Linked DNA regions of Homo sapiens: regions 1, 2, 4 and 5 are each linked to region 3. Evidence: promoter capture Hi-C in human tissues and cell types (Jung and others, 2019). All regions are on one chromosome and are shown on one strand. Each heading gives the region's core, a stretch centred on a gene start or on the middle of the fragment in contact. The rest is flanking DNA. Distances are from core to core; before and after follow the strand shown.

What was found. Contacts are between HindIII fragments. The study calls those that stand out against the background at their distance.
Region 1: a contact is called between a fragment that was not itself captured here and the fragment with the promoter of SFRP1 in region 3, in 1 of the 25 tissues and cell types used here (pancreas).
Region 2: a fragment that was not itself captured here is called in contact with the fragment with the promoter of SFRP1 in region 3 in 1 of the 25 tissues and cell types used here (pancreas).
Region 4: a fragment that was not itself captured here is called in contact with the fragment with the promoter of SFRP1 in region 3 in 1 of the 25 tissues and cell types used here (dorsolateral prefrontal cortex).
Region 5: a contact is called between a fragment that was not itself captured here and the fragment with the promoter of SFRP1 in region 3, in 1 of the 25 tissues and cell types used here (liver).

The regions. Positions count from the first base shown.
Region 1 is chr8:40,225,893-40,228,592 of GRCh38, forward strand. No RefSeq gene overlaps it. Among named protein-coding and RNA genes, the nearest start is that of TCIM, 74 kb to the left of the region's middle. The HindIII fragment of the contact is 3,048 bases long and covers 1-2,700 here.
Region 2 is chr8:40,208,586-40,211,285 of GRCh38, forward strand. No RefSeq gene overlaps it. Among named protein-coding and RNA genes, the nearest start is that of TCIM, 56 kb to the left of the region's middle. The HindIII fragment of the contact is 4,749 bases long and covers 1-2,700 here.
Region 3 is chr8:41,308,185-41,310,884 of GRCh38, forward strand. It overlaps SFRP1 (secreted frizzled related protein 1), which reads right to left and starts at 1,289. Exons shown (of 3, transcript NM_003012.5): 1 at 432-1,289. The coding sequence starts at 975. RefSeq lists enhancers at 1-238, 239-1,009. The HindIII fragment of the contact is 13,871 bases long and covers 1-2,700 here.
Region 4 is chr8:40,148,976-40,151,675 of GRCh38, forward strand. All of the region lies in intron 3 of LINC02866 (long intergenic non-protein coding RNA 2866), which reads left to right. Among named protein-coding and RNA genes, the nearest start is that of TCIM, 3.2 kb to the right of the region's middle. The HindIII fragment of the contact is 4,092 bases long and covers 1-2,700 here.
Region 5 is chr8:39,756,440-39,759,139 of GRCh38, forward strand. All of the region lies in intron 15 of ADAM2 (ADAM metallopeptidase domain 2), which reads right to left. Among named protein-coding and RNA genes, the nearest start is that of ADAM2, 80 kb to the right of the region's middle. The HindIII fragment of the contact is 4,052 bases long and covers 1-2,700 here.

The sequences.
Region 1 (2,700 bases), core at 6-2,505, 1.1 Mb before region 3:
GTTTTTCTTGTTTCTGTTTATTCATTTAGTGACTTCCCTGGACTAATTCTGTAGATTTTGTATTCTCAGCAGTGTATGGCTTTTGAGTTGAGTTCTCTAGTCATTTTTTTTTTCTTAAGTTCTTGTTTTTATTTTTAAGTTTGGCTTCCTAGGGGTCACACTGAAATCAATATGTGGTCAGCCAATAATAGATCAGATTTTTTAAAAAAATGCCCTGCCTTTTTATCTCTACCCTTTGCAAGAGGAATCTGTATGAGAAGGCAAGCCATCACACTACAGGCAATTTATGAAACAGCCTTCGCTCTCACTTCCTGCTTGTACATGGCCTCAAAGTCAGCCAGAGGTGAATGACTGGTGCCTTCTCCTTTCCCAGTTTTTTTTTTTCTGGATTTTCCCACTACTTTTTAAACACCCAGAAATATGTGGAAGCTTTTCAGAGTTTCCCATGGTTGTCTAGTTTTCCTGGATTTTCTTTTAAATTCCCAGCCAGCTTGTTGTTTGCCTCAACTGAAATCACAGCCTTTCATCTAAGCAGCTGAGATGCTGCTGGGAAGGAGCTGAGCTGAGTCAAATCACATCACCATTATGCTCAGAGAATAAAGATTTCCCAGGAAGCTGCAAACATGGACAAAATATTGACTGTGTTCTGGAAGTGGTACCTTTACAAAAGATCTAAAAGTGGTCAGCTCTCTCTTGCCTTCATCATTGCTGGCTTTTGTCTACCATGCCACTGAGCTGGAACAGGAAGAACATGTGAATATCTCCAAGTTAAAACTTCACAGAATTCCTTCCATGTAACCCAAATTTAATACTTTTGCTTGGATACATAGTTTTCAGGTTGCTATATGCTTTGGTCAACTGTCGAGTTTTGAGTTGATTGACTTCAATATTTTTGCCTGTACAGTTATGCATTGCTGAATGACAGGAATATATTCTGATAAATATGTAGTTAGGCAATTTTGTCATTGTGAGAATATAGAGTGCACTTATACTAACCTAGATGGTATAGCCTACTACACACCTAGGCTATATGGTATAGTCTATTGCTCCTAAGCTGCAATGCTGTACAGCATGTTACTGTACTGAATACTGTAGGCAATTGTAACACAATGGTAAGCGTTTGTGTATCTAAACACATCTAAATGTAAAAAGAAACAATAAAATCATGGTATTAGAATCTTATAAGACCACTCTCCTATGTGCAGTTTGTTGTTGACCAAAAAATGACTGTATTTTTGTTGTTTTAGAGGGAGAGCAAGTTTGCCATGGTTCTTACTGCCATTACAGAAATTGATCCTTTCTCATACAATTTGCTTTGGCATTTCATTTAATTAATCATTGCTATGTTTTAAATTTTCAGCAGATATACAAGGTATAGCACATTTATAACTTGTTGCTGAACTAGAATCTCAGGGCATAAAACTGCATACAAGGCTACAAGTCTATGCCTTCTCCAGGGATAAGAGTCTAAAACCTATAACCTCTAGATCTGATATATTCACCCTTATGAAGAATCTCTCAGTGATAAAAATATAGGCAGAGGGATAGTAAAAGATGAGTTTCATGAACACTTTGGTGATTGATTGGATCACCAGTCTTCAACTTCCACCCAGATGGTTCCATTTAACTAGTGGTGTGTAACAAACTATCCCCAAAGATAGTGACATAAAATAACAACCATTTTATTAATGTCACAATTTTGTGGGTCAGAAATTCAGCCAGGGCTCAAATGAGCTATACTTCTGCACCACATGGGATAACTAACTCAGTGCTGTTTTGCTGGTGGCCAGTCTGCTACCCATCTGATCCGGGCCACAGTGGCATTATTCACATGCTTGCTGCCTGTGTCAGGTGAGTGGAATGATAGGCTGCCCTGGATCACTCTGTCTTCCTCTCCCTGAAGTCTCAGGATCTCTCCTTATGATCTCTTCTGCAGCATAGTCAGACCTCTTATTTCATGGCTCAGGGCTTCCCTAGAGGGCAAGGCAGAAAGTGATCATCAATTTAAATCAGCCTCAGAATTGGAATAGCATAATTTCCATTGACTCTATTGGTTAAAGCAGTCACAGGAAAGCCCAGGGTAAAGGGAAGATGAAATAGACACTACTTCTAGAAAGGAAGAATGTCGAAGAATGTGGTGACATCTTTGATCTGCCACACAGCCTATCTTTGGTTTGAAAAATGAGATGTAAAGAACTTAGCAATTCTCTGGGCTTGGGACTGAGAACGTCCCTGTGAATCATTAAGGGACTTTGTGGCATCCTTAATAAGCCTGAGAATTTGGTTTCTCCAGTCAAATATTTTTCTGATGCATTGGGCGTGACAATGGCACCAACCTTCTGAGAATTACTAAAGCCTCAGTAACAGTGAGACAAGACCTGCACTTTTCAAAGGTATAAAGAGAAGTAGCCACCTAGCATTGGAAGACATTTCCGAATATGATGTTTTTCAAACTCCCTTTTGAGAATCAGGTACAGTCATTGCTGACACATAGTGTTCTCGTGAATGCTAGTTCTCCTTTCCTGCTGGACCACCTAGCAGCAAACTCTCCCTTGCTCAGCTTCTAGGATAACAAAGCCTTTAGGAGGAATGCAGCTTTACTTGCTTAGTCCTACTTTGCTGGATTTTCTTAATGTTTCATATTTTTGTTCACGAATCTGCCTGGTCATGCTGTGCCCTTTGTCTTGATTGGTAAAAGCT
Region 2 (2,700 bases), core at 153-2,652, 1.1 Mb before region 3:
GCATAAAAGACATTGCGTGAAGAGATATTAACAGTTAGGAAGTAGTAGATTTTTGACATGGACAGATGACCACAGCATGGAATTGGCCTAGGGTGGGGCTTGGCCATGGGTCACTTTTCAAAGCTCCTGAGCAATGCTGGCACCCATTCATGGTTGTCCGCCACTGGGGCAGCAGTTTCGGCCATCTGGTAGGAACAGAGCACAAAGCTCCACCTATATCCCAGCTGCTGGCTAAGGAAAATGAAACTGTTCCAAGTCAGATTTTTTTTTTTCAAGCTCCTCTCTAGACAAAGGAGAAGATAATAAAATAAAAGAGTTAAAACTAGAATATGAGACATTTGGATTGGATATAAGAAGAAACTTGGGGGAAGAAGAGGTTAGGTATTAAAATGTATGACCTCAGGGATATTGTGTCATATCATTTTCTGGAGGGTTTCACAACAGGGATGAATTTCCATCTGTCTTCAAGGTGTTTCTAATGGAATGTCAAGATGATACTGGAGACTATAGCTCATTCTTTTAGACAGGGCTGAATTCTGCACTTATTCATTGAAAATAAATCAAGTTTTTCCCAAGTGTCCTATAATGTCCTAAAAAAGGGCACTAGGCTGGATGAAGGATTTGGGTGTACACATTGTGGCGGGTCCTGTTTGTAGAACTGTGACAGGCAGTAGAGTGTTTGGGGTAACTATGTATCCCCTAAAGCCAACTGCCTGGTTTCAGTTTTTCCACTTATTGATAGATAAACATACTCCTTAACAACCCTATCAGTTTACCTGTAATAGGGATAATGATGATGATGCTGGTGCTACCATCTTCATATAATTATTCTAATATTAGTTAATAGGCTATACTCCAAGAGTTCAATTAGTTCATATATGTAAACTACGTATACCACCCATGGAACATAGCAGATATTTGTATAAATATTTAATTTTTTTCATTAAAAGTGATTTTACGTTATCTGCATCAGAAGATTCATTCAATCCCAATTAATATTTTTACTTGCAAAATTAAAATATACACTCTTTTTTTCCTGTTCCTTAAGCTACAATAAAGTACAACACTTTCTAGGAAGGGCAAAATCTTAGTGCTGGAAGGAAATAATGAAATCTTCCAGAGGAACGGTTTTCAACTGTGGTTGCGTATTAGGGAGCTTTCAAATAATATTTATACCCAGACCCAAATACAAACAAGAGAATCAGGTGTGGAGGTTAGACACCAGTTTTTTTGTTTTTATTTTGTTTTCTTTTTCTGTTTTTGTTATTTACTCAACTTCATTTGTCATTCCAAAGTCTAACAAAGGATTCAAGCCATTGGTCTGGAACCATCTCTTCAAAATGCAGAAATTTCTCTAACCAACCTCTTCTTAATATTTCCATTGACACAGAATGGTATTTCCATTACCTCACATAAAACTGAATAGTCCTTTAAGTGTAATTCATGCTAAGCAAACAATTCAGACTGAACACATTCAATGTTTATTTTCAAATTTGAATTCATCACCTCCTTACGTTGTTGGCAAAAGTGATAAACAAATGATAAATGCCAAATATAATGAAATATTTCTGCAAATTCTGCAACTTTTTACAACCATCACAGTTAAGTGAAATAAAATATTTTCAAAAGCAAATTAAATTCTTTAGTAATAAATAACACAGTTATTATTACTTTGAATAAAATTACATAAAGATGGCATTTCGGTTTTGAAAGCTGTTTAGGAATCTATCTCCACATGATCAATTTCATTTATTTCTTTTTGAATTTATTTTATTTATCCATTACCAGTTGTGCAATAAACTATATAATCAAGAACCAGTGTCAGGCACTGGGCTATAAACCTTAATAAGGGCAAAACCAAAAGCTGGATTCAAAACTCAAAACTGTCAATTTCTTCAACGTGCCATACCTTTCTGTTTCCCCTAAACTATTAATTGTATTGGATATTTGCAGTTAAGCTGATTTTTAAATAGATTTGATATTGTTTGTAACAACTCAGAGCTATAATTCAGGTAAATTAAGGACTTGGTGGGGGAAGATTTTCTGTGGACGTTTTTTAAAAAATGAGTTCTTCTAGCTTATTTAAGATGTGATTTAACTCACCAGACTGTAGTGTGTATACAATTTCTGGAGACATTGATCAAGTAAGCCAGGACCTGCCTGCAACCAAGGCTATGTGTGCTGTGATCATTCTCTAAGTATCAGTGGGGGTTGCACATAGGCTGGTTTAGAGGACACAAATGAGATAAGAACAGGATGCCTAAAGCCTGGATGCCACTTAATTCAATGAGGACAGATCGTCTGAGTCAGTTTGGTTTGGAGGAAGGGCAGAAGTTGACTGTTCTTCGGAAGGACATCCGGAAGGGCGGTCACCAGGGAAACTGCAAATCACAATAACACTGCCACGGGTGCTGTTAAAGATGGTTACTGCAGCCTCCTCAGAAAAGCACTATTACATTTTAATCTCTTTATGGCGAATTATCAGCGGACCAAGGGTCATGAGCACCAGGTAGTAACAGCCCTCATTAATGGATGTTTAATCACTGCTATTTCTCCAGAGCCTTTAGAGTGCAGATTTTAGATCTGGTCTTATTTCTTCTAGATACTATCATTAACACATATCTTAGAAAACTTTTTGTATCCCAGATTTCCTTTGTTCATTTTATTTGCAACGGAACTGGCAGAGACCCATGGAGCCAG
Region 3 (2,700 bases), core at 39-2,538:
TGGGTTTTTGTTTTTTCCTCCCGTCTCAGAGGTTAAAAACTTCGATAGGGACTCGGAGTCCTCCTAGAGGAGAGGGAAGCTCCCCTGTTATTTAAAGCGCAAGGCTTTGTTTCAGGTATGGGAAAGGCGAAGTTGGATCCCAGGAAGAGCGGCTCCGGGGACCACAGCGAGTCCCTGCGAGGCCAAGGCGCAGAGCTGCCGCTCCCGGGCCAGCCCCGCCGTGCACCTGGGTCGCGAGGGGCGCTGAGCGATACCTGGGACAGACCAGACGCGCTTAGGAATCACGTGCACAGCATGCGAGCAACCTCGGGCCCTCAGTCCCCAGCACCGGGACCCAGCGGCGGGCGGGCGTAGGGTGGCGCGGGTTCTCCTGCAGCTCCGGCCGGGGGATGGAGGGGGCGGCTCGCGCACGTGGGAGGAGGCAGCCTTACCTTGGGGCTTGGAGGCTTCGGTGGCATTGGGCGGCGTCATGGCGATGCAGACGTCCCCCTCGGGGAACTTGTCACACTTAAGCATCTCGGGCCAGTAGAAGCCGAAGAACTGCATGACCGGCTCGCACGAGTCGCGCACGGCCTCGCAGAGCCAGCGACACGGGTAGATGGGCCGGTCCAGGCAGACGGGCGCGAAGAGCGAGCAGAGGAAGACCTGGGTGCCGGCGTGGCAGTTCTTGTTGAGCAGGGGCACCCAGCTGCTGGCCTGCTGCTTCACCTCCGCCATGGTCTCGTGCTCCAGCAGGTTGGGCAGCACCATCTTCTTGTAGCCCACGTTGTGGCACAGCCGCAGGTCCGCGGGGATGTCCACGCACTGAGGTGGCTTGGTGTAGAAGCGCCCGCTCTGGTACGGGCCGATGTCCGACTGGAAGCTCACGTAGTCGTACTCGCTGGCCGAGCCCACGGCCAGAAGCGCCGCGCCCAGCGCCAGCAGCACGCCCAGGGCTGCCCCGCGGCGGCCCCCCTCGCTGCGCCCGATGCCCATGCCGGCTCTGCGCCCTGTTCTCCGCGACGTCGGGGCTGCCTCCGCCGCCTCCCCGCGCGCGTCCTGCCGCAAACTTCCAGGGACCTCCGGGGACAAAAGGCGCAGTCCCCAGCGTTGCCCGGCTCCGCGGCCGCAAGCTGCTGCCCGGTCCCCCCGGCCAGTGGCGGCCCTCGGCCTGCGGTCGGAGGCGGCGCGGGCGGGGAGGCGGCGCTGCGGGCTGGGTGCGCCCCGGCTCCCGGAGGTGCGGCGAGCAGGAAGGCGCGGGGCGGCGGGCGCGCGGCACTGACTCCGGAGGCTGCAGGGCTGGAGTGCGCGGGGCTCCTACGGCCGAGCCCTCGGAGCCGCCCCGCGCAGCCAATCAGCTCCCGGCGGGGCGAGCCGCACTCGTTACCACGTCCGTCACCGGCGCGGGAGCCAATCGCCTCCCTCGCGAGCGGGTTCGGTTTACTAGAACCAGACGCGGCTCAACACCCCTTAAAAAACAAAACCAAAAATACATAAATAAAAGGGGGAGGAGGAAAGAGACAAGGGGAGAAAAAGAAGGGGAATGGATCACGGCGTGGGGTGGAGAGAGACCAGGGCGGACGCTGTAATTAACTCGCATTGGCTTGCAGAGAAGCGGGGAGCCTGGATCATACTTGCAAACCCATGAAATTATGAAGACTTTTTTTTTTTGAGACAGTTTCGCTCTTGTTGCCTAAGCTGGAGTGCAATGGCGCTATCTCCGCTGACTGCAACCTCCGCCTCCCGGGTTCAAGCGATTCTCCTGCCTCAGCCTCCCGAGTAGCTGGGATTACAGCCGCGTGCCACCATGCCCCCGCTAATTTTTTGTATTTTTAGTAGAGACGGGGTTTCACCATGTTAGCCAGGCTGGTCTCGAACTCCTGACCTCAGGTGATGCTCCTGCCTTGGCCTCCCAAACTTTTTTTTTCTTTTTCTTTACACTGCTTCCTAATTTCAACCAACAGCCCTTTAGACTAGCGGCTCCTCTCCTCGGTTCTCTAGCTGCGGTGCAGACAGGTGGTTTCCCAACTAACAGGGGTTCAGGAAGGCTGAAGCGAGGGAGGTCTGCTTGTAAATACCCAGTGGGCCTGGCTGGGCTCCCTGGAAGGCGAGGCGAAGGCGCAGTTGGAGCTGTTTGCTGTGAGCAGCACCTCTCCAGGTGGGGCCGCCCATGGTGGCCCTCAACACTGGGGCAGTGGGTGGACTTTGCCCGGTGTGGCGGCAGGAAGAGCTGCTAGCAACGGTATTAGCTCTGGGAGGACACTTTTTTAAATATATAATATATATTTAAATAGAAAAACCCTACTCAAGTCCTAGCCCGGGCGACAGCACATCTGTGTGTTTGTGGTGTGGAAAGCCAAAACATTAAAAACACATGTGCACTTATCAGCGTGGCTGGTGTAAATACCAAGTCCATCACTCAGGCACACATGCTAAGGTTAGACCCAGTCCAGGAACTTCAAGTTAAAATCAAGGGTCCCCACTAGGGCAGACGCCAAGAGGACGGTATCAGCACAACAGCTCGGCCCCCAGGAACAGAAGTCTCTCTGCCACCTTCTACCTCGAATTCCTGAGAATTCTTCGTAGGTTTCAAACATTCCCCTGAGAGGGAGGGTTAAGCTCTGGAGAGCTGGGAGTGAGACCCGGACTATCCCGGGACAGAAGACCACAGCAAATAGTTCATGAAGTTCCTGGAGTCTCCATATCTTCTGTCCCTAAGTG
Region 4 (2,700 bases), core at 148-2,647, 1.2 Mb before region 3:
GACTTTGCAGTCAAGTAGCCCTGGCTTCAGGTTGTCTTACAGCTGAAGGGTGAGGGGAGTATATTATTTTCCCATTACTGCTGTAAAAAACTGACATGAATTTAGTGAGTTATAATAAACACAAATTTATTATCTCATAGTTTAGAATGCCAGATGTCTAAAATGGGTCTGCAGGAATCTGTTCTTTCTGGAGGATCTAGGCAAGAATCTGTTTCCTTGCCTGTTCCAGTTTCTAACTGTTGTCCACATTCCTTGGAGCACGGCTCCTTCCTCCATCTTCAAAGACAATAACCCAGCATCTTCTCTCCTTTCTGACCTTCTGACTCCTTCTTATAAGAACTCATGATTACATGGGCTGCCCCGGATAATCCAAGCTAAATCTCCACATCTGAAGATGTTTAACTTGTTCATACCTGCAAAAGCTCTTTTGCTATTTAAAGTTCCCTTTTGCTTATATTCATAAATTTCAGGGATTAAAACATGGACCTCTTATGGAGCCATCATTCCATTTATTACATCATTCCATTTATTGCCTCAGTTCTCTTATCTTTGATTTAAGATCTGCAATAGTTCCTATTGCAAAGGGTCGTTATGAGAATTAAATATAATTGCATATGCTGTCATTTAACATTACTATAAAAACAATCCTTTTATTAAGTGACCTTGGAACTTTGAACATAGTGAGAAAGGTAGATCCAATCCCTGCTCTTGATAGGGCCTTTAAATGAGAATCCCCCAAATAAAGATATGTTTGCAAACTCTAATACAAAGTGCTAAGGAAGAGTAATGGGTATGTTGGCAAGAATTAGGAAAGCCTCTCTGAGAAAGTAGCTTTTAGTTGAGATTGTATGAATAACCAGGAATTACCTACCCGAGACAAAAAGTATAAAAGAACATTCCAGAAAAAGGAAAAAGATGTGCAAATCCTCACTACAGGAATGAATGTGGTGTATCCAAGGAATCTGAAGGCATAAAGACATAGCAGGTCATGTTCAAAGAGGTCATGCAAAGTTTACTTCAAGAGTGGTTCAATCAGAGTGCTTACTAGGAAATATGGCTCTGGGTGTTGTGTAGGGAATTTGGGGCAAGAGGCAAATCAGGAGAGCCAGGAAAGTGAGTTACTTGATCTTAGTCTAGCAAGAGATGATACAGTATTTTAGGCTGGGGTCCCTAGGAAGCAAACTCTGAGATGCAGATCAGCAGTCAGGTGACTGGTTGTAGAGTGCTGTTGGGATCAATGCCTGCAGATGGGAAAGATGCAGGATTGGACAGAGGGAGATCTCAGCCTACCCTGAAAGGTGCTCTGAAGTTTAGATGACCCCTTAGAGTTGATACGGACAAGGAGAGCAGGATTTTACACCACCATGTGGATCAGTCACTGGATATAGCTGCACCTGGAAGGGAAAAAGGGTACCCTTAGGTGACATAAACTTCTTCAGTAGTATCAGTCCCTGAAGCGGGCTGATAGCTAAGCACCTGGGAAAATCTTAAAGGGAATTCTGGATCATGCATCACAGCATCCACCATATGAAGGGCTGGCATAAATGGCAATGAAAATAGAGAGAAAGTAGATGGCTTTGGGAACATTTTCTAGATAGAACTGACAGAACTTGGCCATAGATTATGTGTAGGGAGAGAAAGAAAAGGAGTTATTAAGGATCATAGCCAGGTTTATTTTATAACAGAATGAATATGTATAACATATTTTTATATATTTGTATTGATTAGTTAGATGAATAAATGAGTTTAACACTTCAGAGGCCAGGGCTAGGTAGGGATCAAAATTTAGGAGTAATCAATAAGTAGGGTATCAGAAAAAGCATGAGCCCACATAAGAATCACTTCAAGAAAGAACATAGTATAAGAAGGTTGAGGCCAGGCACAGTGGCTCACGCCTGTAATCCCAGCACTTTGGGAGGCCGAGGCGAGTGGATCACCTGAGGTCAGGAGTTCGAGACCAGCCTGCCCAACATGGAGAAACCCCATCTCTACTAAAAAAAAAATACAAAATTAGCTTGGCATGGTGGTTCATGCCTGTAATCCCAGCTACACGGGAGGTTGAGGCAGGAGAGTCACTTGAACCAGGAGGCGGAGGTTGTGGTGAGCAGAGATCACGCCATTGCACTCCAGCCTGGGCAACAAGAGCAAAACTCCGTCTCAAAAAAAAAAAAAAAAAAAAAAAAAAAAAGAACTTTGATAAATCCTTGAGTTATGACAATAATTAAGAGAGGTTTTGTGAATCTCTTGTCCTCTGCTTGGCACATAATAAAAGCTCAGTAAATCCTTGTTGCCATAATAATAATTTTTTTTTAAATTTAGCAAGGGAAACGATGCTGCCACAAAGGTGTGCTATATAGGCCTGTAAATCCATAGACATAGACAGCAGAACAAAGGGCTCTTCTGGAACCCTTGGAAAAACTGGAACACACATGAGCTGCATGGTTGGAGAGTTGACCACTGGCACACCTGGAAATGTCTTTCAAGGAGGCATCCTTCAGAAGAGATCAGCCTGGGCTCCTGTTTGTTATTCATTCCTCGCATCTAATTTTTCAGCAATCGTCTTAGCTTTACCTTCACAATATGCCAGAATTGGATCAGTTCTCACTACCTCCACATTCTCCCTAGTGGAAGCCTTCATCCTCTCTTTCTTGGATTATTGAACATCTCCTGACTAGTCTTCCTGCTCCCCACTCCCTGCTT
Region 5 (2,700 bases), core at 135-2,634, 1.6 Mb before region 3:
CTACAAACCATAAGATTTTTATTTGGCCCTTGCATCCTGTTTGGAATCTTAAATGCTACCACATGACCATTGCTACATCAGAAGATTCAGGAAACCATGGAGGCAGAGAGACTAACCCTAGATCAACTGCATATGTTGAGATAGACAACATATGTTATCTAAATAGCCTCCTAATCAGCAAAATCTCAGCAGTGATGAAAATCTAAATGTCTTCAAGCAATTTTCTATGGCCTGAACTTTTCTCCCTTTGGCCAAAAGAAGACAACGAAAATGGGCAACCCAGCCCCTGAAGTGGCCAGGAGTCATCGAGGAAGGACTTGGAGTTGATAAAAGCTGTTCTGCACTCATAGTGCACACACCAGTTAAACATTAAGTAATTTCATAGAACATCAACCTTAGGCAAAGCCATTCTGTGATCATGAAAGATTAAGAAAATAAGCAAGCTCACTTCATAGATCATGTATGAACACAGAGGAGAAACAAACATTGTCCAAGCCACAGTTACTGGACATTCCCAGGATTCAACTAATATGTGTGACTATTGCTTCTTTAGCAATTACAACTTTAGCTTCACTTTAGTCTTCCCTCTTCATATATAAGATTAAGATATACAATCATACAATTATTAATATCTCTACTTTAAAACATCTAATTTACAGCAAAGGTCTATTTCCTGAAACCTTCCTAAAATCACCTAACCCAAGTCCAAATCTCTAGAACTGGCATACTCCACAATTTCTCATGATGCGATTTCTCACCACTCAACATGTAAAAAAACCCAACTTGCTCAACTACGGCTGCCTTCTTGGTGGTCTTTGGCTGGAAGGCATTGTAGTAAGGTAGAACTGTAATCTGAAACACACATGCTCACACTTTGAAGACACCGGAATGTAACCAGAAAGGAAAGGACTATATAACTGAGCTTTAAGAATGGGAACTGCAGCACCAGATATTCTGTAGATGTGGCTTTGTTTAATAATTTATGAAAGCACATCCAAGGTTGAAGATTCTTAGCTTGAATAATCCCAGGACATTATTAAAATACGGGTCTAATGTCAGTTAGTTGACTGGAAACTTAGACTGAGAACTGAAATCTGAATATAAATTTCAGGTTTATATTCAGCCTGAAACCTGGATGACTACTGAACTAATTAAGCTTGTGTGGTGAAGAATCCAGGGAGCACATAAAAAGCATCTCCCAGAGGCATAACGAAATGAACAATGTTTTCAGCTCCTGCTCAGAGACAGGTTTGCTTTATAGTTTGAGTCCAGCTATGTTAAATCCTTTCCATTACAAAATTCTAGCCTTCAGAAAAGCAAAAGTGAATGCAATTTCCGTTATGTATTAGTCATATTATATGATACAAAGTTAAGAAATATGCTAAACACACATAGAAAAAGTAAAATATAACATAGAGGGCAAATAAATTACTAGATACCAACACCAATACTACACAGACATTTCATTCAGCAGAGAAGCCCTTTAATGCAGCTTATATAAAAAGGATCAATGATGAAAAGGAAAATATAGTCATAATAGCTAGAATTTTCTTTCAGTAAGTATATGCTTTAGCAATTATAAAGCAAATTTCTGTGCATTTGGAACTTGAGTATATGAGGAAGCAACTTGTATACTAAAATGTACTTTATGGCACTTAATTGGAATTAGAATTATCACTAAGTTCATGTCTTAAATTCAGAGATTTACATGAATGAATATGTGATACATGTATGTGCATATATGAAATGCATGTTCTAGCTCCATTGACTGACAGGCTTGAGAGGTAATGAGAAGAAAAAAAAAGAAATAAAGGGCCACCATATCTGAAATTTACTCTCAAATATTTCAGAAAAGCAATTATAAAGCAATATATACATATAGTTACAAAACTGTATGTGTTTATAATGTGTGTATTTGTATATTTGTGTGTATATTATATGTAATGAAAGAGAGAGACAGAGACAGAGACAAAGAGATAGAAAATGATAAGCCAAATGTGTTAAAATGCTAAAATTTGGAAAATTTGAAGGGTATACAGGAATTATTTGCACTATTATTCTAACTTTTATATGTCTGAAATTGTTTCCAAATAAAAACATTAAAAAATAAAAAGTCAGTAAAAATAAAAAAAATTTAAAAAAAAAAGAAATAGTAGACATGCACACAGCTGGTGCTTAGGTATTTATTTTCAAATACCATCTTCTAAGAAAAGGAACCAAGGCTCCTTGGATGAATAGCTGAATCCAGAGCAGAAGTAGAAGAAGCTCAATGCAACCTACAACATCTTTTCTTGTGCTAGAAAAATTTGGAAGTTATTAAAAAGTCCTACAGACTTTTGAAAAGGACACATTAACCAGCTCAAAGGGATTCCCAATAGTCAAAATTAAGAGAATTTGAGAAAGTATCAAAATAATGATAGTAATGTATTTTATCCTATTAAATAAAATAACAATTATTGTGTCTAAACTGATATATATATAGATAAGTAAATAAAAATATAGAAGTGACTACTTCTTCCTACAGTACATTTCTAGATAATAAAGGCAAAGTCAATAATACAGTTAGAAAATCACTAATGGATTTTAAAACTAGTTAGTTAAAGTTTGAGGAGAAACAGAATATGCCCAGGGTCTCAATATAACTCCTCCAAAATTACATATTAAACCCAAAAGGAAAATAGTAATTTCACAGTTGAAAGA